Linked DNA regions of Homo sapiens: all the other regions are linked to region 2. The links are contacts of gene promoters, found by promoter capture Hi-C in human tissues and cell types (Jung and others, 2019). All regions are on one chromosome and are shown on one strand. Each heading gives the region's core, a stretch centred on a gene start or on the middle of the fragment in contact. The rest is flanking DNA. Distances are from core to core; before and after follow the strand shown. Region 1 overlaps SETX (senataxin). Region 2 holds the start of TTF1 (transcription termination factor 1). Region 3 overlaps SETX (senataxin). Region 4 overlaps NTNG2 (netrin G2). Region 5 overlaps DDX31 (DEAD-box helicase 31).

What was found. The method cuts DNA at HindIII sites, captures the fragments that hold promoters and counts their contacts. A contact is called where the count stands out against the background at its distance.
Region 1: a fragment that was not itself captured here is called in contact with the fragment with the promoter of TTF1 in region 2 in 2 of the 25 tissues and cell types used here (bladder and heart right ventricle).
Region 3: a contact is called between a fragment that was not itself captured here and the fragment with the promoter of TTF1 in region 2, in 1 of the 25 tissues and cell types used here (lymphoblastoid cells).
Region 4: a contact is called between a fragment that was not itself captured here and the fragment with the promoter of TTF1 in region 2, in 1 of the 25 tissues and cell types used here (lymphoblastoid cells).
Region 5: a contact is called between a fragment that was not itself captured here and the fragment with the promoter of TTF1 in region 2, in 2 of the 25 tissues and cell types used here (spleen and thymus).

What each region holds. Positions count from the first base shown.
Region 1 is chr9:132,273,614-132,278,623 of GRCh38, reverse strand. It overlaps SETX (senataxin), which reads left to right. Exons shown (of 26, transcript NM_015046.7): 21 at 367-554; 22 at 1,472-1,564; 23 at 3,204-3,368. Among named protein-coding and RNA genes, the nearest start is that of SETX, 79 kb to the left of the region's middle. The HindIII fragment of the contact is 3,482 bases long and covers 621-4,102 here.
Region 2 is chr9:132,404,443-132,409,401 of GRCh38, reverse strand. It overlaps TTF1 (transcription termination factor 1), which reads left to right and starts at 2,562. Exons shown (of 11, transcript NM_007344.4): 1 at 2,562-2,612. The HindIII fragment of the contact is 7,318 bases long and covers 1,505-4,959 here.
Region 3 is chr9:132,257,705-132,262,534 of GRCh38, reverse strand. SETX (senataxin) reads left to right here. Exons shown (of 26, transcript NM_015046.7): 26 at 1-1,179. Among named protein-coding and RNA genes, the nearest start is that of SETX, 95 kb to the left of the region's middle. The HindIII fragment of the contact is 4,266 bases long and covers 465-4,730 here.
Region 4 is chr9:132,240,347-132,244,862 of GRCh38, reverse strand. It overlaps NTNG2 (netrin G2), which reads right to left. Exons shown (of 8, transcript NM_032536.4): 7 at 3,819-3,953; 8 at 337-2,987. The coding sequence ends at 2,752. Among named protein-coding and RNA genes, the nearest start is that of NTNG2, 81 kb to the right of the region's middle. RefSeq lists silencers at 2,604-2,673, 3,144-3,193, 3,344-3,833. The HindIII fragment of the contact is 6,383 bases long and covers 1-4,516 here.
Region 5 is chr9:132,598,847-132,603,495 of GRCh38, reverse strand. The region is part of intron 19 of DDX31 (DEAD-box helicase 31); the gene reads left to right. Among named protein-coding and RNA genes, the nearest start is that of BARHL1, 19 kb to the right of the region's middle. The HindIII fragment of the contact is 4,533 bases long and covers 393-4,649 here.

The DNA.
Region 1 (5,010 bases), core at 1,112-3,611, 130 kb after region 2:
TTTGGCCAGGTGTGGTGGCTCATTCCTGTTATCCCAGCTACTCAGGAGGCCAGAGACATGAGAATCGCTTGAACCTGGGAGGTGAAGGATGCAGTGAGCTGAGATCACGCCACTGCACTCCAGCCTGGGTGACAGAGCGAGACTGTGTCTCCAAAAAAAAAAAAAAAAAAAAAAAAAAAAAAAAAAGATTCATGGCATTTTGAGGCTCAGAGTCAGAAACACCTTTTTTCTCTGAAGCTGTGGTTGGTAATCTTATGCTACCTGAACGTTGCCATATACGTATTAGATCTCAGTAATTGTGTTTATAATAGTGGGAAAGATATAAATGAATTCTTGGAAACTGTTGCTTTATTTTGCCCCTCACAGAAAGCACAGGAGTATGGCTACGACCAGTCAATGATGGCTCGCTTCTGCAGACTGCTGGAAGAGAATGTAGAACACAACATGATCAGCAGGCTGCCCATTCTACAGCTCACTGTTCAGTACAGGATGCATCCAGACATATGCCTCTTCCCTTCTAATTATGTTTATAACAGAAACTTAAAAACAAATAGGTGAGTTCCCCTTATTGTTTGTGACCTTATTTTGTTGTAGTTTAGCTACTTATGAAGAATAGACATTTTACTGTCGTCTTAGGTCTTGTCATAAAAAGCATAAATCATGAAGGGTTAATAATTTTGTCCTGTTATAATAGCCATCATGTTGAATACAGCAAAGCACATAAAAAAGAAAAGGGGAAAAAGTCACCTATATTTATACTACCCAGAAATAATCACTGGTAACATTTTGGTATATCCACTTTCAGCAGTCCTTTTTTTTTTTTTTTTTTTTTTTGAAGACAGGGTCTCATTCTGTCACTCACACAGGATGAGTGCAGTGGCACACAGTCCTGGCTCACTGCAGCTTCGACCTCCCAGGCTCAATCAATCCACCTGCCTCAGCCTCCTGAGTAGCTGGGACTACACTCAGTCACCACCATGCCTGGCTAATTTTTGTATTTTTCTTTTTGTAGAAACGGGGTTTCGCTATGTTGCCCAGGCTGCTTTCGAACTCCTGAGCTCAAGCAATCCACCCGCCTTGGTCTCCCAAAGTGCTGGGATTACAGGCGAGAGTCACCGCACCTGGCCAAGTTTCAGTCCTTTTACTATGCATATCTTTTTTTACTTTTTAAATTTTTGAAGGAAAAATGTGGGACCATACTTAACATAGTATTCTGTGGCTTACTCTATTATGAGTGTCTTTCCAATCATACTTGTTATATTTTAATGATATAGACACCTCTCCCAGCACCAGGAAAGAAATAGAATTTGTTTTGTACCTTTCACTAATACACGTCTAGAAAAGAATATTCCTGCTATCCCCTTACTTGCCCCAGCCCACATCACCACACAGAAAAAATTGTAGTAATACCAAGATATTTTCTTAAATCTTGACTTTATTCTGAATGTTGACTGCTTTTTTTTTTTTACAGACAGACAGAAGCCATTCGATGTTCATCAGATTGGCCATTTCAGCCATACCTTGTGTTTGATGTTGGAGATGGTTCAGAAAGACGGGATAATGAGTATGTTTTCCTCTTGCCTCAGTCCTCTGATAGTCCCAGAATTGTTACATGATTTGCATTCATATTTCTGTTAAATACATTTCCTATACACATCTCTCTGCCTAGTGTCAGGGCACAGTCATGTTCACTTAAGTTGATGCTTCTTTTTTCTGTATAATGGGGATAATATTACCTAATGTCATAAGCAAGTGCTTGAGTAGATACTTGTTGAGCTCACAGCAGTGAGGGAAACAGACGTGCCCATTGCAAGATGGTGGTCTCATGGGAAGACAGGCCTTCAGCAGGTCATCACCTGGGTAAGCAGTTATTCCAGTTGGGTTAAGTACTGTGAAGGCTAAGTATAAATTCAGTTGAATGAAAATGTGAAAGGGAGGAAGGAAGTAGTGACAGAGGTTGGATGGTATTGGGTTGTGAATAAGGGCATGTGTTCAGGTGGTCTGTATATGACAGCAAAGAGGAGTGGTGTTGCTAGAAGCAGCAATGTCAGAGGAGCTGGGGATTCTTGTGAGAGAGTAGGGGAGGAATGGTCTAGGGGCAGCATTTGTTGGCACGGATACAAGTGCCACTCTGTCATGAAGTAGGAGGAAACACAAATCCCACTTCTACATCATGGGATGGCTGCAGAGCAGGTGGCGTCCTCAGGCGAGAATCAGGCGTTAGATAAGATACAGAGGTGGAAGTAGGGAACACTCATTGAAGAGGTTACACATACAGAGGAGTTGTTGGCCATGGGATTGTAGTGCTGGAGGGACTGCAGCCTAAAGGTTTTAATGAGGCCTCTTGGAGGAGAGCAGAGGATTGCGAGTTAAGCCGCAGAGCATCATGAGGATTTCAGGGATGGAAGAGATCGCTAGCTGATTGGGTTGTCCATTTAGTAAGTCTCAAAGTTAGGAGAATGGGTATTTAAGGCTCGTAAAGCAAGGCGGGTAAGGTAGCCTCAGGAATCAAGGGATGGGGCAGTGCATCCCCTGGTCTTGGTGCATTTTGGGTCCGGTATGGTCATGAGGGAGCATGTGTTTTCAGGAGGGGTTGAGAGTGCAGGATATGAGGCTGCTGAGGACTACAAAGAGGACATGAACCTGCTCCAGGGCCCCATGTTGTTCAACTGGGGTCAAGTGGGACACATCCTTCACATTGAGTCTGTGTGGATGGCAGCTGCTCGGTTGTGTGGTGTGTGTTGTATGCAGCCAGTGGTGAGGGACAAGGAAGATCATACATGTAAAGCATTTTCTCAGTGTTCGGAAGATAGTTAATCCTTAATTCATGTTAGCTATCTCTTATTCACATCTTTGTTCTTATTAATACTGCTGTTCTTAATACTGCTCTCCCTGTTTCAACAGATGAAGAAAGTGGTGCCTAAACTTCAGTTGATTTCAAACTCTTTTCTCTCTACAACTTCATTTTTCACTGGGCATTTCACATGTATTCATATTTACCATAGTATTTTCACATTTATTCATATATACCATATTAATGGTCATTGTAACAGCCTCTTGGAGTCACTGCTAGCTGAATAAAAGATGAAGCCTATCTGCCTGCCCTTTACTATAATGGGAAACAAACTCAGTGGAACTTAAGTTAGCAATTAGCCTGCTATTAGTTTTGATAACACTGTGTTTTCTTTTTCCATCTTGTTTAGCTCATATATAAATGTTCAAGAAATAAAACTGGTGATGGAAATAATTAAGCTTATTAAAGACAAAAGAAAGGATGTTAGTTTTCGAAACATTGGCATAATAACTCATTACAAGGCCCAGAAGACGATGATTCAGAAGGATTTGGACAAAGAGTTCGATAGAAAAGGGTGAGGCATTTTTATAAATATTTCCAATTTTCTTGTTGAATTAGAATGAGAGGATATAGAAGGAAAGAAGAAAAGGGAAACTCTTAAGGAGTGGTCTGTGCAAATTGGTGATACGGCACGAGGAAGCTGGGATGCTGCTGGCTTTCATAGACTTGTGCTGTGTGGCTCCTGGGTAGACAGGTTACTTCCTGGCAGTTGGAATGTCAACATTCTCCTTGGCAGTGGAATTGACTAAGAAACTTGCCAGGTCTTTACCTTTTAGTTCCATGACTTGTTCATCTGAATTCTTGTTCTAGCAAGACTAAAAGTAACATTTCACTTTAAATAAATGATTTAACCCTTGTATTGCCTTTATGTATAGAATGAAAATCATGTTTTTGTTTCCTTCTTACCTCAGCAGTAAAATTAAAGATTAAATATTGGAGATCCATAACCTTAAAATCATCTTAACTTAGAAGCACACAGACTACCAAAATCGAATCTAGAAAACAATAGAAAATCAGACCTGTAGGCTGGGTGTGGTGGCTCACACCTGTAATCCCAGCACTTTGGGAGGCTGAGGCGGGCAGATCACCTGAGGTCAGGAGGTTGAGACCAGCCTGGGCAACATGGTGAAACCCCATCTCTACTGAAAAAAAATACAAAAATTAGCCAGGCGTGGTGGCGCGCTCCCGTAGTCCCTGCTACTCGGAAGGCTGAGGTAGGTAAATCGCTTGAACCCAGGAGGCGGAGGCTGCAGTGAGCTGAGATTGCCCCACTGCATCACTCCAGCCTGGGTGACAGAGCGAGACTCCATCTCAAAAAAAAAAAAAAAAGAAAAAATCAGACCTTTATAACAAATAATGAAACATTTCCCAATAATGAAAAGCCCAGAACCAAGCTAAGCTGGTGAATTCTATCAAATATTAAAAGAAGAATGAACACAAGTCATTCTCACATGCTTCCAATAAATAGAACACTCAGATTCATTTTTTGAAGCCAGTATTACACTGATACCAAAGCCAAGGGAAAGTATCACAAGAAAACTACAGATCCAAATCCTTTATGACTAGATACAAAAATCCTCAACAAAATAGTGACAAACTGAATTCAGCAGGTTATTACAAGGATTTATACATCAAGACCAAGTGGGATTTATCCCAGGAATGCAAGATTGCTTCAACATATGAAAATCAATATGATATACCATATTAGAAGAATGAGGAGACCCACATAATCAGCTCAGTAGATACAAAAAAAAGTTGCACGGAACCCAAAATGCTTTGATGATTTAAAAAAAAAAAAAGAATACAAAGGAACTTTTTTTATTAATAAAAGGCATTTACAAAAAACTCATAGCTAACGTTATACTTCATGGTAAGAATGAAAGCCTTTCCTCTAAGATCAGGAGAGATGTTTGAAACTCTTAATGCTTTTTTTCAACATTGTACTAGAGGTTTTAGCCAGAGCAGTTAAGTAAGGAAAATAAATAAAAAGCATCTTTACTGGAAAGAAAAAAGTAAAACTCTCTCTTCATAGGTGGCATGATCTTATTTCTAGAAACCCTAACAAAGCCATTCAAAGGCACTATTAGAGATAATAAGCTTAGCAGGATACAAGATTAATATGTGAAAGTTGATTATATTTTGATGCAACTAGCAAT
Region 2 (4,959 bases), core at 1,313-3,812:
AGCATGGGCAACATGGTGAGGTCTCATCTCTACCAAAAATTAAAAAAATTACCCAGGTGTGCTGGCACACACCTGTGGTCCCAGCTATGGGGGAGGCTGAGGCAGGAGGATCACTTGAGGAGGTTGAGACTACAATGAGCCGTGTTTCGGCAACTACATTCCAGTCTGGATGACAGAATGAGACCATGTGCCAAAAAAAGAAAAACGAAGATTCACAGGACTCACCCCAGACTCACTAAATCAGAATATCTGGAAATGGCATCTGAGGCTCTCCTTTTTTTTTTTTTTTTAAGAGACGGAGTCTTGCTCTGATAATGACATGAGCCACCTCACCAGGCCAGATGCTGCATTTTTAAAAATCCCCTTACCCACCCACCCACAACTTGGTGAAAAAGTTCAAACCTACAGAAAAGTTGAAAGTCGAAAGAAGAATACAATGAAAATACATATAGGCTTCACCTAGATTCGGTTAGATTTTGAAGGGAAGGGGAGGGTTAAAGAAAGAGTGGCGGCTCTACAGCAAATTCAGGCTTTATGTCCAGCATGAGACCTACAGAGGTGGGAGACCAGCTTAATGCCAGTGCCTACCGCTGCTTACAGGCTGGAGAAATTATAGGCCTGGGCGGGGAGGGGCCCGGTGGGTATGGCCTGCTGCCCGGGAAGATGTTGATAAGGTATTCCCATGATGAGGCAGTTTGGCCCTTGTTCTGGTGGAACGTGATGTTCCTGTCACTTTCTCCCAGCAGAATATGATAAGAGGCAGGCTGTTTCTCACTGCCTGAACCCCCGTGGAATGTTTCACTTTAAGCAAGGTCTGCAAAATGGCAGGGGGCTTACAAAATGGTGCAGTTTGGACTAACAGATTCACCCGTCCCCAGCACTGGTCACATTTTCTTGCTCTCTCTCTGTGAGCATGCACATACACACATTACAGAATCACCTGAAAAATATCTGTCAACACCATATTTAACCCTAAGTACGTCATCATGTAGCAAGGACATTCCCATGTGTAACTACAATGTCATTATCATGTCCGAAGATTTTAATGTGATACAATAGTGTTTAATATAAAATCCATTGCAAAGTTGAGACTCTGCATTTGAAAAAAAAAAAAAAAAGCTTCCCAGGTGATTGGTGCAGTTGGAGGAGGATTGGAAACCACTATTGGAGTTTTCCTGAATCGATACTGGATGATATCTAATCTCTCCTCTAGTGCCAGCCTTTTGTGGGTTCATTCATGCATCACTAGCACCACAAGGCTCTGGGTAAGTGGGGTCACCACAGAACACGTGACACCAATGACGGACCTGGACTTCAAGGCCTTCCATATCAACAGTGGACAACACCACATTTACAGACTTCTCCAGACGGAGCTCCAACTGCACGTCCACATCCCAGAGCAGCCCTTGCATGGCAACATGAGTACATACATAGGCTCATCGTTTCTCCAACCTGCTTCCCTTCCAGACTTTCACGGAAGCATAGTTTGTGCATTTTTTAATCAAAGCCACTTGGCAGATCACATAGAAGTCAGGTGGAACAGTGAGGGGCAAGATAGTGGAGTAGTAGAAAGAGCATAGGTCTGATTTCTGGCTGGCCCATTTAAGTCACCTTGGACAAGTTACTGTAAACCCAGGTTTCTCATCCACAAGGTGGGGCTAATAATACCTCATTACAAGGATTAAGTGAGAAAACTTGTTGCCTATATCGTATATGTTCACTATCCAAAAAGGTTAAACGTTTGGTTGGTAAATATAATGGCCTCGAATTGATGGCCAGGTTAAAGCTGCCCTTTTGGCTAAGTCTCTTCAGGACTCTGTTGAAATGGGAAGACTGGGATAGATCTCCAAAGCTCCTGCTAACTCTAAACTTCTGAGACTTCATCCAAGCTTAACATCCATCAGCCTCTGCACCAGATAGCCCCTGCAGACCTCTGACTTCCTCTCCCACCCCCTCCCCTGCATTCACATGCATTCACTTAGGCTGGGCGTGTGCGACCTGTCTGTCACCCTGTGGGTTCACTGTGTGGATTCACTCTGTGCTCCAGCTGCTCTGGCCTTGTCCCAGGTCCTCCAGCAACCAAGTTCAGGACTTTTGCACTCACTTCCAGCCTGGAACACTCTTCTGCCTAGATTTTTTGCCTGCCCTTTCCATTTAGAACTCAGTTCAAATGTCACCTCCTCAGTGAGCCCTCTCTTACATCTAAAGTAGCACCCACCGTCCCCTAGTCACTCTCCATCACGTCACCCTGTTTTATTTTCCTTACAAGATAATCTGAAATTATCTTAGTTGATTTGTCATCTGTCTTCCCAAGTTGTTCCTGGAGTTCACCAAAAACTGGAATAAATGGAATGCACGCATGCATTAGTACGTCAATGGAGGGGGATTCTGTCCTACTTTCTTCGTTTCAGGAGCACTCTCTACCCCACCTGACGTCTAAAGGACCCAGAAGGAAAATGGGTAGGCAAATGTGCGCGCCTCCAAGGCCTAGCGGCAGCCGTGTTACCATGGCAGCGTGACGCCGAGGGGGCCGGAAGGCGACGCACTACTACTTCCGCTTCCTCAACAGCAGCACTTCCGGGTTGGGAGAAAGGTGGCGGCGCTTTCGGAGGGTAAGTTGAAAGCGCCTTTGTTGTTTCTGTTTTTCAAAATGCGCGCGTAAAAACTCAGCGTGGGGTGGTGGGTTTCCCCGTCTTCTGGGAGACCCGCCTTTTGGCCTGAGGTCTCCAGGCCGCGGTCTTTGCCCCAGGCCTTATCTCGGGGAAACTGAGGCTTGGGTGTTTTTTTTTTTTTTTTTTAAAGATGGAGTTTTGCTCTTGTCGCCCAGGCTGGAGTGCGGTGGCGCGATCTCGGCTCACTGCAACCTCCGCTTCCTGGGTTCAAGCGATTCTCCTGCCTCAGCCTCCCGAGTAGCTGGGATTATAGGCGCCCGCCACCAAGCCTAGCTAATTTTTGTATTTTTAGTAGAGACAGGGTTTCACCATGTTGGCCAGGCTGGTCTCGAACTCCTGACTTCAGGTGATCCACCCGCCTCGGCCTCTCAAAGTGCTGGGATGACAAGCGTGAGCCACCGCGCCCGGCCGCGGCTTGGGTCTTTGGGAGTGAGAAGATGCAGAATTCACATCTGGTTAGTTCCTCCAGTCTCAGCCCTGGAGCGCCCACCCGGGAGCAGAGCGGGGTCTCTCTCGCACCCCAAAGGCGGTGAGAGAATCCGGGACCAGGTTTGGGCACGTACCTGCAGAGCGGGAAGTGTATGTTCTGAGTAAGGGGGGATAAATGCATATCCGTTCTCAATATGTATCGAGCACTGACTGGGGAGCCATTTGGGAGCAAGATGGCCAGGATTCCAGCCCTCAAGAAGCCGATCATATTATAACTGCCAAAAGTGCAATGGGGAGCAGCTGGTTGTTGGGAAACACTGTTAACCAGAAAGATGAGACCGGCTAAGGAGTTAGAGAGGTCCTCTTGAGAAAGTGGCTTTCATACTTGGACCAGTTAAAGGGCAGAAAGGTAATGCGGAGGAAGAGCTTTCCTGATGGAATGGGCTGTTTTTGCAAAGTTCCTGAGACGAAAAGGAAGGTAGTGTATTCTAGGAACTGAAAACAGCAGGGTTTCTGAAACCTAGAGAGAAGTGAGAGGTAGAGAGGTGGGCATGGACTTACCTCTGTCCATCTCTAGGCTAGATTATGAAGAAATGAAGACTCTTGCAGGTCTGTGAGGATTTTGACTTTATCTTAAGAATAACAGGGGAACCCTAAAAAGTTTTTAGCAGGGAGAGACTATATATTTAGAAGGTTGTACTGGGCTCCAGAGACCAGAGAGCAGCCTAGGAAGTATTTACAAAAAAGAAGGAAAGGAACTGATGGAAGGGGAAATGTTATTTAAAGAAATCAAGGCCGGGCGCTGTGGCTTACGCCTGTAATCCCAGCGCTTTGAGAGGCCGAGGCAGGTGGGTCACCTGAGGTCAGGAGTTCAAGACCAGCCTGGCCAACATGGCGAAACCCCGTCTCTACTAAAAATACAAAGATTAGCCAGGCTTGGTGGCTTGCGCCTGTAATCCCAGCTACTACTCCGGAGGCTGAGGCAGGAGAATCGCTTGAACCCGGGAGGCGGAGGTTGCAGTGAGCCGAGATCGTGCCACTGCACTCCAGCCTGGGTGACAGAACGAGATTCTGTCTCCAAAAAAAGAAAAAGAAAAAAAGAAAAGAAAAGAAATCAGCCAGTGGGTGGCTCACGCCTGTAATCCCAGCACTTTGGGAGGCCGAGGCGGTTGGATCACAAGGTCAGGAGATCGAGACCATCCTGGCTAACACGGTGAAACTCCGTCTCTACTAAAAAATACAAAAAAATTAGCCTGGCGTCGTGGCGGGCACCTGTAGTCCCAGCTACTCGGGAGGCTGAGGCAGGAGAATGGCGTGAACCCGGGAGGCAGAGCTTGCAGTGAGCTGAGATCACGCCACTGCACTCCAGCCTGGGCGACAGAGCAAGACTCCGTCTCAAAAAAAAAAGAAAAAAAAGAAATAATCGGCTTTGCTCTGTTTGTGATTTATTAAGAGGTCCTAAAAGATGGGCCTGAAAAGTGTCTGTTGAAATTTGTGGCTTTAAGAACAAAGGCACTCTTGCTGGAACGGTCTCAGTGGAGTAGTGGGGTGGGAGCTACCAGGATGTGGGTTAATAAGTGGATGAAAGGTGAGGTAATGGAAAGAGTGATTTCTCTTTCAGGAAATGTTGCTGTGAAGGGGAAGAAAGAGAACAGCTGGATGAGACTTTAGGGTTAAACGACAGTTGCATTTTTTTTTTAAGTTAGAGGAGATTAAATATTGTTGGCATTTTGCTAGAAAACGCAGGCTGAAGATACAGGAGAGAGATGAGAGAGAAGATACGGAGAGACCACCATCTCTCTGAGAAGGCAGGAGAGGGTTGGGAGCCAGCACACATTTTCCTTCCTATAACGGAAGG
Region 3 (4,830 bases), core at 1,348-3,847, 150 kb after region 2:
GCAGTGTGCGACAGTTCAGGACGGGTAGGGATGGGTCCCATTCTGTCTGGGTCAAGGGCTCTATCAGCTTCTTCCATGTGCCTTTGGGAAGAAATCTCGTTACTTTAAGTTTGCTTTCCTGTTATCTTGATGAAGTGCCCATTTTAGCAGACACTTGTAGTGCTGACCACTTAGGGAATGTACAAACTCCTAAGCTTCTAAAGGGAGGCATGGCAAAAACGTTGGGGTCAGGATGTCTCTCACGCTGCTCATGTTAATACTATTAACACATGATTTGAGAAATAAGTTTTCTCTAAAATGCATATTTTGCCGCCACACACTGAACAATATTATTTCCAGTGAAGTTTGATGCCTGTTCTTACGTTGTGTTCACCTGTTGGTTCACCACTCAGCAGATCTGATTCTGCAAGAATTAATGGTAGAACTAGATCATCCTTTCTAACAGACGAGCCTGTGTCCTGTGACGGCCTTTCACAGCGGAATGCAGTTGTACCTCACATTACTTTTGAAACTTCACTCGTTCCAGTTGGTACAAGTATTTGCCAAAGCCATTTCCTATGTTCACCGTGGCCCCTCCTGATGTGGCTGTCAGCGCAGCGTTGTTGAACAGGGCTATTCTTTTTACAAGGTGTGAAGTGTGGCTCTTCGCTTCGTCTTTGCCATGGCATTAAAAGAAAGTTCCCTGTCTTCTTTCAATATTAGTTATTTCAAATGAATATGTGCTACTTAAAAGCTTGTTTTGTTTCTTTGTATATAATTTGCCTTGGATTTATTGTGCACAGTTTGTTGAGTTGTATGTTTTTGTGAATTATCAGGAGTAAATTTGACAAGTACATGTGAATAACCTCCTGTAAATGAATTTTATAACAAAAATGTACTGAACTATTTTTTAAAGTTGTGCAGATTAGCAATTTTTTGCTATAGCTTTGACTTTTCTATGCTGTGAATTAATAGCTGCGATTTGGCAAACAGCCCTGTTGTCTTTGTTAAACCCTAAATTTTAAGAGGAAATGGCAGAATTAAAAGCAGAAACAAGAAGATGGACATGGATTAGAGGTTATGTATTATGAAGTAAACTACAAGGTACTAACATCATTTCGTCTGCCATTTGGTTTGCTTTATGCTGAAATTACTTGGTGGGGATTTGTGCAATTCAGATATAAAAAGTTTCATTATCCAGCCCGGCCCTCCTTCCTAGCTCCTTTTGGAATCTTCTCTGTACAGTAATGAGGTGCATTGAGGCCAGCTGTGCTGTTTAGTTACAGACTGAAGTTTGGTCCAACAGAAATATGTGCTGATCATTAGGCTGGAATTGGGGTGGAGGTGAGATAGGAGGAACAGATGAACAGTGACCCGTGAAAGGAGCTGCCAGAAGCACTGGTGGAGGGACAGGGTAGAATTGCCCTTGCCAGGGGTAATTGCTGATGGTTATGGAAGTGGAACACACTTTATAAAACAATAAACTTCAGGAAATGTAGTCAGCTTCCCCACACTTGTGCCTGTTAAAAGGCACTTGACCTCCGCCTCTGTGTCTCCTTCTGTACCCAGAAGTGTGTGCACACAGCCCACTTGGCCTGCTTGGCTTGTTCAGTATGCATACACAAATTACCAGGGAGGGTAAAATGGTGTGTTTGGGACTTAGGGGGAGTAATAAATTTGCCCAATGGCCTGGCGAGAGATGAGTGCTGCATGGTGGTCATTTGTGGAATTGGTTATGCAGCAGCCTTAGTGATGGTTTTTGAAGTCACCAGACATCTCTTTCCTGACCCATCCGCCCCCACAATCGCCCCCACCTCCTGGGTTTCACCATTCATTGAGGAATAAATAATTGAGGGACGAAACTAAAATTTAGCCTCAGCTCAAATAGAATTGATAATGTTGTACAGCACCACAAAGGCAGTTTCTGTACACAAGGGATCCCTCCATGACTCCAAAGACGTGAGTTATCGTCACCCTGTCCTACTACACAGAAGGCATTTGCCAAGTCAAATGGCAGAAATGGCATATTCGTAGTTTGGGTGTTTGAAACTGCAGGAGGAGGAACTCTGTTGCTGTCCTGTCAGCTCAGTAGACACAGTTATCTTTGTTTTCAAGCAGCATTGCAACAGAATTGTCAGATTGGTAGTTTTCAGCCTTGAGTTTTTAACCTTAGGGAGCACATTGGGCTCACTTGGGGGCTTTTAAAAAAAATTCTGAGGTCGGGTGCGGCAGATCATCCCTGTAATCCCAGCACTTTGGGAGGCCGAGGCTGGCGGATCACCCGAGGTCAGGAGTTCGAGACCAGCCTGGCCAACATGGTGAAACCCCGTCTCTACTAAAAACACAAAATAACCGGGTGTGGTGGTGGGCGCCTGTAATCCCAGCTACTTGGGAGTCTGAGGCAGGAGAGTCGCTTGAACCCAGGAGGCGGAGGTTGCAGTGAGTAGAGATTGTGCCACTGCACTCCATCCTGGGTGACAGAGCAAGACTGTCCCAAACAACAACAACCAAAAAAAAAAAAAAAAAAAAAAAAAAAAATTCTGATTGCCTGGGATCCATCCTAGCATTACTGATTTACTGGTTTGGGGATGCAGCCCTTGGTATTCTTGTGGTGTTTTGTTTGTTTGGTGTTTGTTTTTTTGAGACGGAGTTTTGCTCTGTCACCCAGGCTGGAGTGCAGTGGTGCAATCTCGGCTCACTGCAACCTCCGCCTCCCGGGTTCAGGTGATTCTCCTGCCTCAGGCTCCCTAGTAGCTGAGATTACGGATTCCCACCACCATGCCCGGCTAATTTTTGTATTTTTAGTAGAGACGGGGTTTCACCATGTTGGCCAGGCTGGTCTCGAACTGCTGACCTCAGGTGATCCGCCTGCCTCGGCCTCCCAAAGTGCTGGGATTACAGGTGTGAGCCACCGCGCCCGGCCCCTCTTCGAAGCCTTTCGTAAACATTAACCCTAACAACACCCCGAGGTTCCCTGGATACTTTCCCTTTGCTTAGGAGAGCATTGGTGAGGACTTGGGCTGTGGGCCCATTCACCTGTGGGTCTGTGGCACGCTAGCCCGCCTGGTGCCCCTTCCTGCCTCCAGGAGGACGCAGCTGCACCCAGACGGCCAGAGCAGAGCGGGCAAGATTTCATCCTCCCCGTGCTCTTCAGCTCCTCGGCTTGTGCGGAGAACCATACACACCGCCCCCGGTGGCCGTGGGCGGGACTGCAGCTGCCCCGCCCCTGTTAGGCGGATGTGCCTGGGCCTTCACTTCAGTAACTCCCACGTGTGACCCCAAGAGACAGGACACGCAAAGCCCATGCTTCTCAAAGGGCTGGAGGCAGAAACCCAGGGTCACCCCCCCACCAGGCTCCCTCAGACACCGGCTTTGCCACTGCTGAACTAGGATCACCAGCCTCCCATCCCCCTGCCCCTCTTCAGACCCCTGAAGCCGTAAGAGTCATTCCCCTGCCTCCTGCCTTAGCAGAACTGGGGCTCACCCTGCAGCCATTATTTATTATACACTCGCACCCACACACATGTGGAGTGCCCCTGCCTGGCTCACTTCTGTCTGCAATTCCTGGGCTCTCCAGCCTGGCCCCCTAGAATGTTCTTCATCCTTTTACCAGGCTCAGCTAGGAGGCCTCCCTGGGGAAGCTGGTCCCTGTCTGAAGAGGCCCATCTGCCACACTCTGACCCTGGCCCCACATCCCTTAGCCGGCTCCCAGGGCCAGAGCACAGTACGCCTTCCGCAGACAGGTGATGTTTCTTGTTATTTATTTTTTTATGTTGAGACCGAGTCTCGCTCTGTCGCCCAAGCTGGAATGCAGTGGCGCGATCTCGGCTCACTGCAACCTCCACCTCCCAGGTTCAAGCGATTCTCCTGCCTCAGCCTCCCGAGTAACTGGGATTACAGGCACGGGCCACCACGCCCGGCTAATTTTTGTATTTTTAGTAGAGACAGGGTTTCACCATGTTGATTAGCCTGGTCTCGAGTTCCTGACCTCGTGATCCACCCACCTCGGCCTCCCAAAGTGCTAGGATTACAGGCGTGAGCCACCACACCAGGCCTCTTGTGTTTTTTTTTTTTTAATTTCATAAAATATTTTCTTACAGGCTCCAGTAAACCTTCACCAATTTACATCAGTTCCTATTCCTCACCAGCAAGAGAACAAAATAGACGGCTACAGGTGAATTTGCAATATCATTTTTACAGAAGGCTGATTAGCAGTTAACACAGTAAGGGGTCCACGTCGATTGACTTCCCAGAGCTGGGCCAACACGGCAGGGTCCTAGATGCTTTCCCTGGGGATCTTCACTCCTTGGAAACTCACGTGTGGTTTAAGCAAAGCATTTCCACGGTAGCCTCACGTTCTTGAGTATCCACATCGGTACTGCTGAGACCACCGTGCCACTGATGGGGACAGCCGAGAAGTCTTTAGTTCATGTCTTTTGCCCAGCAGTGTCCTTTTCCCACTCTTTTTCTGTTAAGCTCTAAAATCTCTTCCAGCCTCTGGGTGAGGGAAGGTTGGTAAGCACACTTCATGCCCTCATCACATTGTTCTCTTTTGTGTATACCTCGTTCTCCATCTCGCCCCTCCCTGTCCAAGCTCCACAATTTAAAAACACTGAGTCCATCACGAGGTCTGTTTGTCTCAGTGGTCAAGGTGGACTCAGCCCCTGCCGGGATGGACCTCACTGTGGGAGAGTGGGACTGGCGGTTATAACACACCCAGGCTTTGCTTTCATGAAGGGCCTGCAGTCAGTCTCAGGTCCTTCCCAGTGCCTTGGTGAACTTGGACCATCTGGTCTCTCCTCTTCCCTTTCAATGACACAGAGCAGCTGGAGTTTCCTAAAACAAGACTGT
Region 4 (4,516 bases), core at 1,904-4,403, 170 kb after region 2:
AGGTGACATTTTATCATCTTGATGACTAGGAGGAAATGCCTGCTGTTTACCGACTGCGGCCAGCGCTGCTGTTTCTCTGGGGTGAGTTCTGCTCAGCTGCCCTGTGCTCACTAGAAGGCAGGGGCAGTCCTGTTCTGGACAGAGGTGGACTCCTCGGCCTGAGTCATGGACATTCCTCTTCCTGGTGACTTGAGGGTCACCATGGGGGGCTGCGGCCAAGGAAGGGTGGGTTTCAGTCTCTCTCTGGCCTTAGAGGGCTCAGGGGGCCCGGATGCCAATCAGGCAGGGCCAAGAACTTGGAAAGTGTGCATGGAACAGAAAACCCAAATTCTAGTGTTTTAATCACATCACCGTTTATTTTTTTTCTCACACAGTAAGACAGGCAGGTGGTGCGGTGGCTCATGCCTGTAATCTCAGCACTTCGGGAGGCCAAGGCCGGAGGCTCACTTGAGCCTAGGAGTTTGAGACCAGCCTGGGCAACATAGTGAGACCTCAACTCTATAAAAATAAGTAGATAAATAAAAGCAGTGCAGAGGTTGCAGCCAAGGCAGGTGTCCCAGGCTCTGCAACTTCCACCCCCGGCTCCACCCTTCACTATCCTGAGGGTGACACTGTTATGCTCAGTGTCTCAAGAAGGCTCCTTCCCCATCCTGCTGACTGAAGAGCAGAGGGAGGGATGAGAGAGAAAAACCAGAGCCACAAACTTGGACAACTGAGGCTTTGTGGGGCGTGGAGGAAGGGATGACTTTTAAGAACTTTCTGGAAGCCCACCCATCAGTCCTGCTTACATCTCACTGCCCAGAGCTGTGTCCCCTGGCCACTCCTATCCACAAGAAGCCCCAGAGAGGTGTTTTATTTTATCTGGGCACTTTGGGTCCCAGGCAGTGGGGTTCTGTGCGTAAGGAAGAATGTGAGGGTAGAGATGGGCCAGCTGCAGGAGGATGCAGGGCCTGTCGGAAGGCACTTCCGGGTCAGCAGGGTGCTGGGGGTGGGAGCAGAGAGAGGAGGCCAGGAGGGGCTGGTGTGTGGGCTCGGGACACTGTGAGTCCTATGCAGTGTCCCGTTGTGCCTCCCCCTCCTTTTCTGTGTTGTAATCTCCTGCTGTCCCCAAGGCCAAGTTTGTTCCACTTGGTCTTAGCTTAGCTTTGGGGACTCAAGGGAAGGACCCAGGTCTAAACCTCGCAGCTGGGAAAGAACAGGTGTGGTGGCAGAAGCCAGTGCTGGGAGCACCTGCAGGTGGAGCAGTGGCAGCAGTTAGCAACCAGGACCGGACCCCCGGCACTGCTCTGAAATAAACATAGGTGGACAGGAGGCTGGACCGAGGGGGAAGTGTGGCCCCAGGGCTGGAGACACCAAGCGGAGATGGGAGAACTGCTGGATCCTCTGAATCAGAGGCCCCAGGGGATGAGCCCCGAATCTAGGAGCTTCCTCACCACTCCCAAGCTGCCCCTGTCCCCTCCAGCACCCCTTCCTAATCTTGAGAAGGTAGGGAGGACAGGGCCGGCACGTCTGGGGTCTCTGCACTGCCCGCCTCTGCCCACCTGGCCATCTGAAACTCTGGAAGGAGGCGGTGGCCGAATTGTGGGTTCAGCTTCATCTGATATTGGACTTGAGGCTCCGGCTGCAACAGGTCTGAGATGACACATCCATCGGAGGTGGCCACCGAGACACAGTATAAATCAGAGCATTGGATTCAACCTCTGCTAGGATTCTCCCTGAGTCATTTCCCTTGGACTTCTGTAGAAAAGGGCCAATACACTCCGGATTTCTTTTTTGGGAAAGGAGGGAGGCAGCCTTTCAGTGTGGGGAGGCTCCTAACAGGTGGGGCACCTGCAGCCTGGCCGCGGGGTGGAAAACTCTGCCAGCCAAGCCTGCGGGGAGGGGGCACTGCCTGCTGGAATCCACAGAAAGGCCCAGGGAAATGGTGGCCCCAGTAGGGAAACCGTTTCTTTAAGGCTGTGTTGTGGATTCCTCTGTAAGCCCCACACCTGCCCACCGTCCCCAACACAGAAAGAAAACAGGCCGTGGAGGCAGCAGTGAGCAAACTCTTTACTCCTCGGATTCTCCACCATCGGCCCCCGCGGTGACCAGTGCTCCCGCCCCGTCCCCCTTGCAGGGGACAGTGAATACAAACAAAAATAGTTCTCTACAGAACGAAGTTTCCAGGCCCCCCACCCCTTCCTTCTCTCCTCCTCCCCCAGACGGTGAGTTCCGTGGTCACCGGGCCTCCGGTGAGGCCTGGGGTCTGGTGGGTTGCAGGAAAAATAAAGAATAGAAAACAGGACCAAGTCAGCGACTGGAATTGTAGGCAACTGGAGGTCGGGGTCCGCCGCCGCCCGTGAGCCTGGCACAGGCCAGGGGGTGTCGGCCACAGTCCCGTGTGTGTAAGTGTGGTGGGAGGCAGGACGGGGTGTGGGGCGAGCAGCGTTTCTCCCGACCCTCTGGCTCACCGCCAGAAAAAAAAAAAAAAAAAGAGAGAGAGAGAAAGACAAAAAAGGAACTGGGCGGCGGATAATACAAAAGAAAAACGAAACCAAATCGCAGGCGCGGGGACCGGAGTCCCAAGGCGCCCCTGCTGCGGGGGGAGGGCAGTGCGGGCGGGAGCGCGGGCCGGGCGGGGGGCCCTGCTGAGTAGCACCTGGGAGCACCTCGGGCCGCACCCTTCTCACCGCCCGGCCTCGGACGCCGGCCCCGCCCCGGGACCCCGGGACCCCCGGCCTCCGGGTGCGGGGAGCGTCCTCCGGGCGGGGCTCAGCGGCCCAGGCGGGCGGCCAGCCCCAGCAGCAGCAGGCAGCCGAGCAGGGTGGCGGGGCGCGGGGCGGCCCCGGGCGCGCGGTCGCAGTCCAGACCGCCGTCATCGTCGGCGGGGTCGCAGCGGGGCTGCTCGCAGCGCACGCCGGTGTAGCCGCGCGGGCAGGCGCAGCGCTGGTTCTGCAGGCAGGTGCCTCCGTTCTGGCACAGCAGCTGGTCGTCGTCGCACACGTTGGCTGCAGGCGGAGGGGGCGGTCAGCACGGGGGGTGGCCCGGTCCCCCCGCCAACCTCCGAGCTCCTGCGAAGCAGGGTGTGCGAGATCCCGGGGGCGCCGTCTGGGCCGGGGATGTAGGAGGCTCCAGGCGCGCTGGGTGCGAAACGTCCCCCCTCGGAGGGTGACGGCGCCCGGGCGAGATCTGGCCCCCGGCTGCCTCCCACCGCTGCCCCTCTCTCCCCGCCCCACTGGCCTCGGTGCTGTTCTTCAGACGCGCCTGCAGTCTCCAGAGCTGTGCACGTGCTGTTCCACGCGCCTGGAGCCTCCTTTCACCCTGTGCCCGCGGCTAACGCCGACTTGGACAGCCTCCCTCCCTCTGTCCCCGCAAATACCTTTCCAACCAACCCCAGCTCGGTCTTTCTCGTAGTTCCCACCAGGCACCACCGTGCCTCAGGTCGCATCAGGCCCCGCCCCGAGCTCTTGGACCCGCCCCTCGGCCCGGCCCCGGACCTCAGCAGCATCCTGTCCCCGCCCACCTGCCAGCTCCGTCTCGCTAGGCCCCGTCCACCGCCCCCGGGTCGGCCCCATCTCACCAGGCCCCTGCCAACTATCCCAACCCTGCCCCGCTCTCACTAGGCCCCACCCACTGCCCCGGCCCTGCCCCGTCTCGCGAGGCCCCGCCCACCGCCTCTTCCCCGTCCCACTAGGCCCCACCCACTTCCCCGGCCCTGCCCCGTCTTGCTAGGCCCAGTCCACCGCCCCTGCCCCGTCCCACTAGGCCCCGCCCACTGCCTCGGTCCTGCCCCGTCCCCTTTCCGCAGGCCCCGCCCACGGGGGACGGCGCGCACTCACGGTAGCAGCCCTGGCGCCAGTAGTGCGTGGGGAGGCAGTCGTCGCACTTGGGGCCCGCCGCGCCCTCGCGGCACTCGCAGAAGCCGGTCTCGTTGCACCGGTCGTGCACGGAGCCTATCTGGTTGCAGTTACACTCTGGACGGACACGGGCACGGGCGCGCGGTCAGGGCTACGTGTGGGCGCCGTCTTCTCGGACCCCCACTCTCCCGGCCTCGCAGGGAGCATCTCCACACTCCCCAGGGGATGCTCCCCACACTGGGTCCACGTGAGCCCGCGGCTGGACGGCAGGTGGGGACTTCCCAGGGTGGCCAGGCCTGGAGAGAAGACTCTGGCTTCCTTCCTTGGGATCAAACACGTCCCAGCCCCACCTTCCCCGCCCTGGCACTGGTGTGGCCTGGGTCAGCCCCTTCCCCTCTCTGGGCAACTAGAGGGGTCGCTGTCCTTCCCATCTCCAAAGAGCTATGACTCCGACAGGTGGCAGAAACTCAGCAGAGGCCACTGAGCATGTCTGGGGCTGCTGTGTTGTGGGGTGGCCCCCCTCCATAGCTCCTTTGCAGGGGAGTGGAGGAACAGCCTATTCCTGCTCCCGGGGTGGGCCCAGTTGGTTGCCTTGGGGCTCTGTGGGAGAGGGTGAATATCGTCCACCCTGAGAAACCTTGCAGCTCAGTGCTGGCTCTCGGGGTGGAGGCAGGGAGAGC
Region 5 (4,649 bases), core at 1,410-3,909, 190 kb before region 2:
CTGTATTACAGCCGACTACCTCCTCTCCTCTTCTAATCTAACTCTACTTTCATTAAGTTGCTTTCTGCAACAGGAAGGTGTGTATCCCGGACCCCTCCACACTCTTCTTCATGATGTCAGAGCCTTTCCATCTTGTTATAACCTGTACGAAATGACTTCAAGTCTTTTTCAGATATCTCCACGTTGGTCCCAATGTTATAGCTACGGTCCAAAATGCAGAGTAATTTGTTAACTACTTAATAGTCAAAATGAGGGATACAGTTGAGAACCAGCATCCCAGAGCGACAGCATGTGACACTTTGTGCATGTCAGTTTTAAGTGCTCGTGGCGGTGGCAGCAGCATCTCTTTTGAGGGCTTACGTGTGTTCTCTGCTGAGCTGAGTCCTCCATGCACATTATCTCACTGAGGCCTCATCCAGTCCCTGTGACCAAGGCAGGATCCGCAGTGGCCAGTGTAGAACTCGGAGCCCGGTCATGTGATTCTGAGTCTTAGAGATCCTGAAGCCCAAACTCTCAGCCAAGGGCCGTGTCCGCTTTCTCGCCTGCCCCGTCTGGAAGCTGCTGGTTTCTAGAATCTGTATTGGGTGAAATAGCAAGTATATGAACACAAGGAGATAACTACTCGTGTAACCAAAGAAATGGCCTTAAAGTAGGAGATGTTTTGGTAGTGTGTGTGGAAGAATTTGGTTTGAAACTGTCAGAGTATCTTCGTAATGGGCAGCATGTGAATGCTTTTAGTACATTAGCTTTTGTAAGTGAATAAACTGGGACTTAGAGAGATGAGTACCTTGGCCAAACTTCCAAGAGTGGGTCGTAGATGTTTTCTATTCTTTGGGGAAATCATTGGAACAACTTTGAGAAGAGATGATTATAAGCAAGATTTGGATCTAACTTTTTTTCCAGTTTCCTCTAGGTCTGGAAGCAGAACGGTACAGTGCTAGGAGCGTGGGTTTTGAAGCCAACATTCCTGAGTTTGATTCCAACTCAGCAGCTTAGCTGTAAAATGGAGGTGCTGTAGGGTTGTTGTGTAGGGTGTGGGGAAGGGTAAGGAATGTGCAGCCTTAGCTCAGTGCTGATCTCAGAGTGGGTGTTTGATAAACAGCTGTCTGCCCTGTCTCACTTCCTCTCTTTGATCTGTAAATAAAAGATGGAAACTACATAGAGTCTTCCCTGAGTCTGCCCAGCCTGGCCCAACCTGGTCCTGTGGGTCCCACTGCACTTCCCATGGTTGCTGTGGCCTGTGCTTCAGCACCCCTGGCGTCCCAGTGCCTTGCAGCCCCCAGGGCTGTCCATTCATGGACCTGGCTTGCCATTAGAGCTTCTGAGAATGAGCCAGAATTCACTACTTTCATTTTCCACCCTTTGGTCTTATTTCCATTGTTTGGCCTCTGTGAGATTCAAACGCTGTGTGTACATGATTTGCAAACATAGAAGTGATGTTATTGATCAGACCAGGCCTTAGTTCACATGACAATATGCCACATATCTGAGGATGACTCCTGTCTCCTCCCCTTTTCTCTTTTTCGTGCTGTTAATAATAACACTAGTCAGCATTTACTGAGTACTTTCCTAACAGGCTGTGTGCTGAATAGAGTGTTAGCTCATTAATCGTTGTAAGTGAATAACGTGGGACTTAGAGAAATAAGTACCTTGGCCGAACTTCCAGAATCAGTTCTACAGCCTGTATGAGGTTGTGCCAGGACCCCTGCTCAGAGGGGCTTGTTTCTGGTGTGCCTGTCTCAGGCTGTACGAAGGCCCAGCTGCATTTTGGTCTGTACTGTTGCAGCCTGTCCTCTGGATGGCTCGGCTCCACCCATCCTATCTGCCCAGGTTCTTTTCAAAGTCTGGTTCGTGAAAGTATCCAGACTTACAATGGAAACTGCCCAGCAAGAAGTATGGGGCAATCACGTCTGTTAGTGCAGGGGATGATAATGGCAGGGATGGCGGCTCCACTGATGGATGCTCAGCAGTGGCCAGGCACTGGCCCCCATGATGGATGGCCATTGTGGTCCTCACTTCAATCATGATGTTATCCCTGTTTTACAGAGGAGGAAACTGCCCATGATGGCACCACTGTCCACTGGGCAGAGCCGCGATTCGAACCCAGACCTCTGGTTTCAGGTTGAAACTTGCCAACTGAATCCCTGTCCATTTGCATATGTGACAGTTATGCCACCCTACCTTCTAACAGCAAGACCTGACATCTGTCCCAGTTCAAGCTCACCTTGCCAGCGTAGGCCCATCCCTTTGGTCTCCTAGACTGTTGTTATTTTGTCAGCCAGTGTATTAGCTGTTCCTGCAGATGTGGTAGACATGCCTCATGATTTCATCCAGTTCACCCACAGTGTCAAACAGGACAGGCCCAGAGGGCTGCGCTCTGGGGTGTGGGGCTGGGATTCTGCCTCAAGCTGGTCCTTCTCAGTCAGTATTTTCAGTGTGTAATCATAACAGTTCCAAGCACAACTCACTGCTGCCATGTTCACCCTGTATTCTCCATCTTAACAGTAATTCATAAGGCTTTCACAGAATTAAAATGTACCGAGCTCTCTAACGCACTGTAGGCTGTTTTACCTTCATACTGGCCATGTGCCTGTGCATAGGTCCTTTCTGATGTACCGGGAAACGAAGCTTGGAGAAAGCTGCTGTGACTCTACAAGGTCATCAGCTAGGCGAGTGGCAGAACTGGGATTCCAACCAAGGTCATCAAATTCTGGTCCTCTGCCCGTCCCCAGCACTGCCACCTGCCATCTGAAGTTCCTGCTTATGTTCTGACAGAACTTCCTAAGAGTTTTGGTCACCTGGGCTAAATAGTCTCAAAGTTCCCATCCATTTCTGGGGCTCTGGTGAAGCCCTTCATTTTCAAACATCGGCCATATCTAAATATGATCTCTCCTCTTTCCCATCATGTGCATGGCCTTCCAGGCAGCAAGTGTGCCGGGCCATCCGCGGTTTTTCTCAGTTGTGGTCTGTGCTGCCTGCCACTGTGCCTGTCCTTGGCCCAGGGCTCGGAGTTCTGAGCTTCACTAGATCTTGATCTTTGGCACAAAGCTGAAGTCCACTTTTCACCAGCCTCTGTGTCCACAGAACCCCTCCTAGGAATGCTGCTGTGATTCCCATGATTCCCACTGCCACAGCAGGACTCAACTGGAGCCGAGTGTCTTCTGGGGCTCTGGTAGTTTTACAAAAGCTAGACTTGATTGGATCCTAAGAAATCACAAAGAAGGCATCCCTAAAACAGCTGGTCTGCCAGCATACTTCTCTACCAGAACAGAACCCAGAGGTTGAAAGAGTCTAGATACAGTTCCTTTTCCTCACTGACCATAAAAGGTAGGGTAGCATCCTCCTTGGGTTGGCCCATGCCAAGGTCAAGTTGTCATGACATCCCACACCAGCTTATTCTTTCCCTCAGCTCCTCTGTGTACAAGCATACGGAGGGCCCGCTTGTCACATTCCCCTGGAGTTGCCTGTTACCCTCACTGTGACCTGAGAGCCACCAAAACCCTACCCAGACATTGCTGCCTTTTTGTCCTCCATAGAGTCAGGCACAAGTGTAGAGACTTATAGTCAGTCCCGGGCCACCTGAAGTCCTCACGGTCTCCTGCGTTCACTGAGAGCCCAGGCTTTTCTTCCCATGTGGGGGACTTGCGTCGTCAGCAGAGACCTTCAGGGCCTAGCCGTGGCCCTGGAACATGTGCTTATAAGCAGCCTCGTTCAGATTAGAGGAGTGCACTTGACTAGTCCTCATTCTGAAGAACCCCTGTCTGTCTGTCTGTCTATGTTTTAATTGTACTACACCCTCGCAAAATCAAACCAACTCAAAGCCAAAAGGCAGACAGGTTTCTGATGAGTAGAAATTAAAATACTCTGGCATTTCACTATAGGACAAAATTCTACCATTTGCTTTTGTTTCCCCTTAGAGTGAATATACTGTTATTTTCTAATTATAAAAATAATGCATGCTCATTGTAAAACTACAGGACATAGGGAAAAGCTCAAAAATTAACCATAAGCCTACATTCAGGTTAACCCTGATACATTTCCTATATCCTTCAGACTTTGCACGTATACATACAGGCATACAGATTTATGTATATTAAAAACATTTTATGCCAGGAACTTGCCCCTTGTTTTGAAAACTGTAGCATGGTGACAGACTGCTATGGTTAAACTCTGTGAAGTCAGATTTCCTGAGTTCAAATTCCAGCTCTTGCATTACTGATTTTTGGCCCTGGACAAATGACCTAATCTCTCTGTGCCTCAGTTTCCTTACCAGGAAGTGGGGATACTAGTAGTACCTGTTTCAGGCGGTGGTTGGAAAAGTGAGTAAGTTAAATGCCTATGTCATGTAGTCGGTTTGGATGGCTTTGATTTTACCTGTTTTACATTTAAATCCATTAACAACCCATGTAATTGGTATTCGCTTCAATGTTTTCATCTATTTGTAGAGCCCATGAAGGGCGCCATTGTGGTCATCACTGCTTTTCACACAGAGCCTGCAGGAAGTGCTCTAGAGGAGCGTTTCAAGACCTTGGGGAAAAGAGTTACTGTTCAGTGACCGTTGTGGATAACTGGATAACTCTTAGGAAGAAACAGTTCATTTTTCTATTAATCAAAATAAAACTTAGATGGAATTAAAGCAGTAGCAAGCT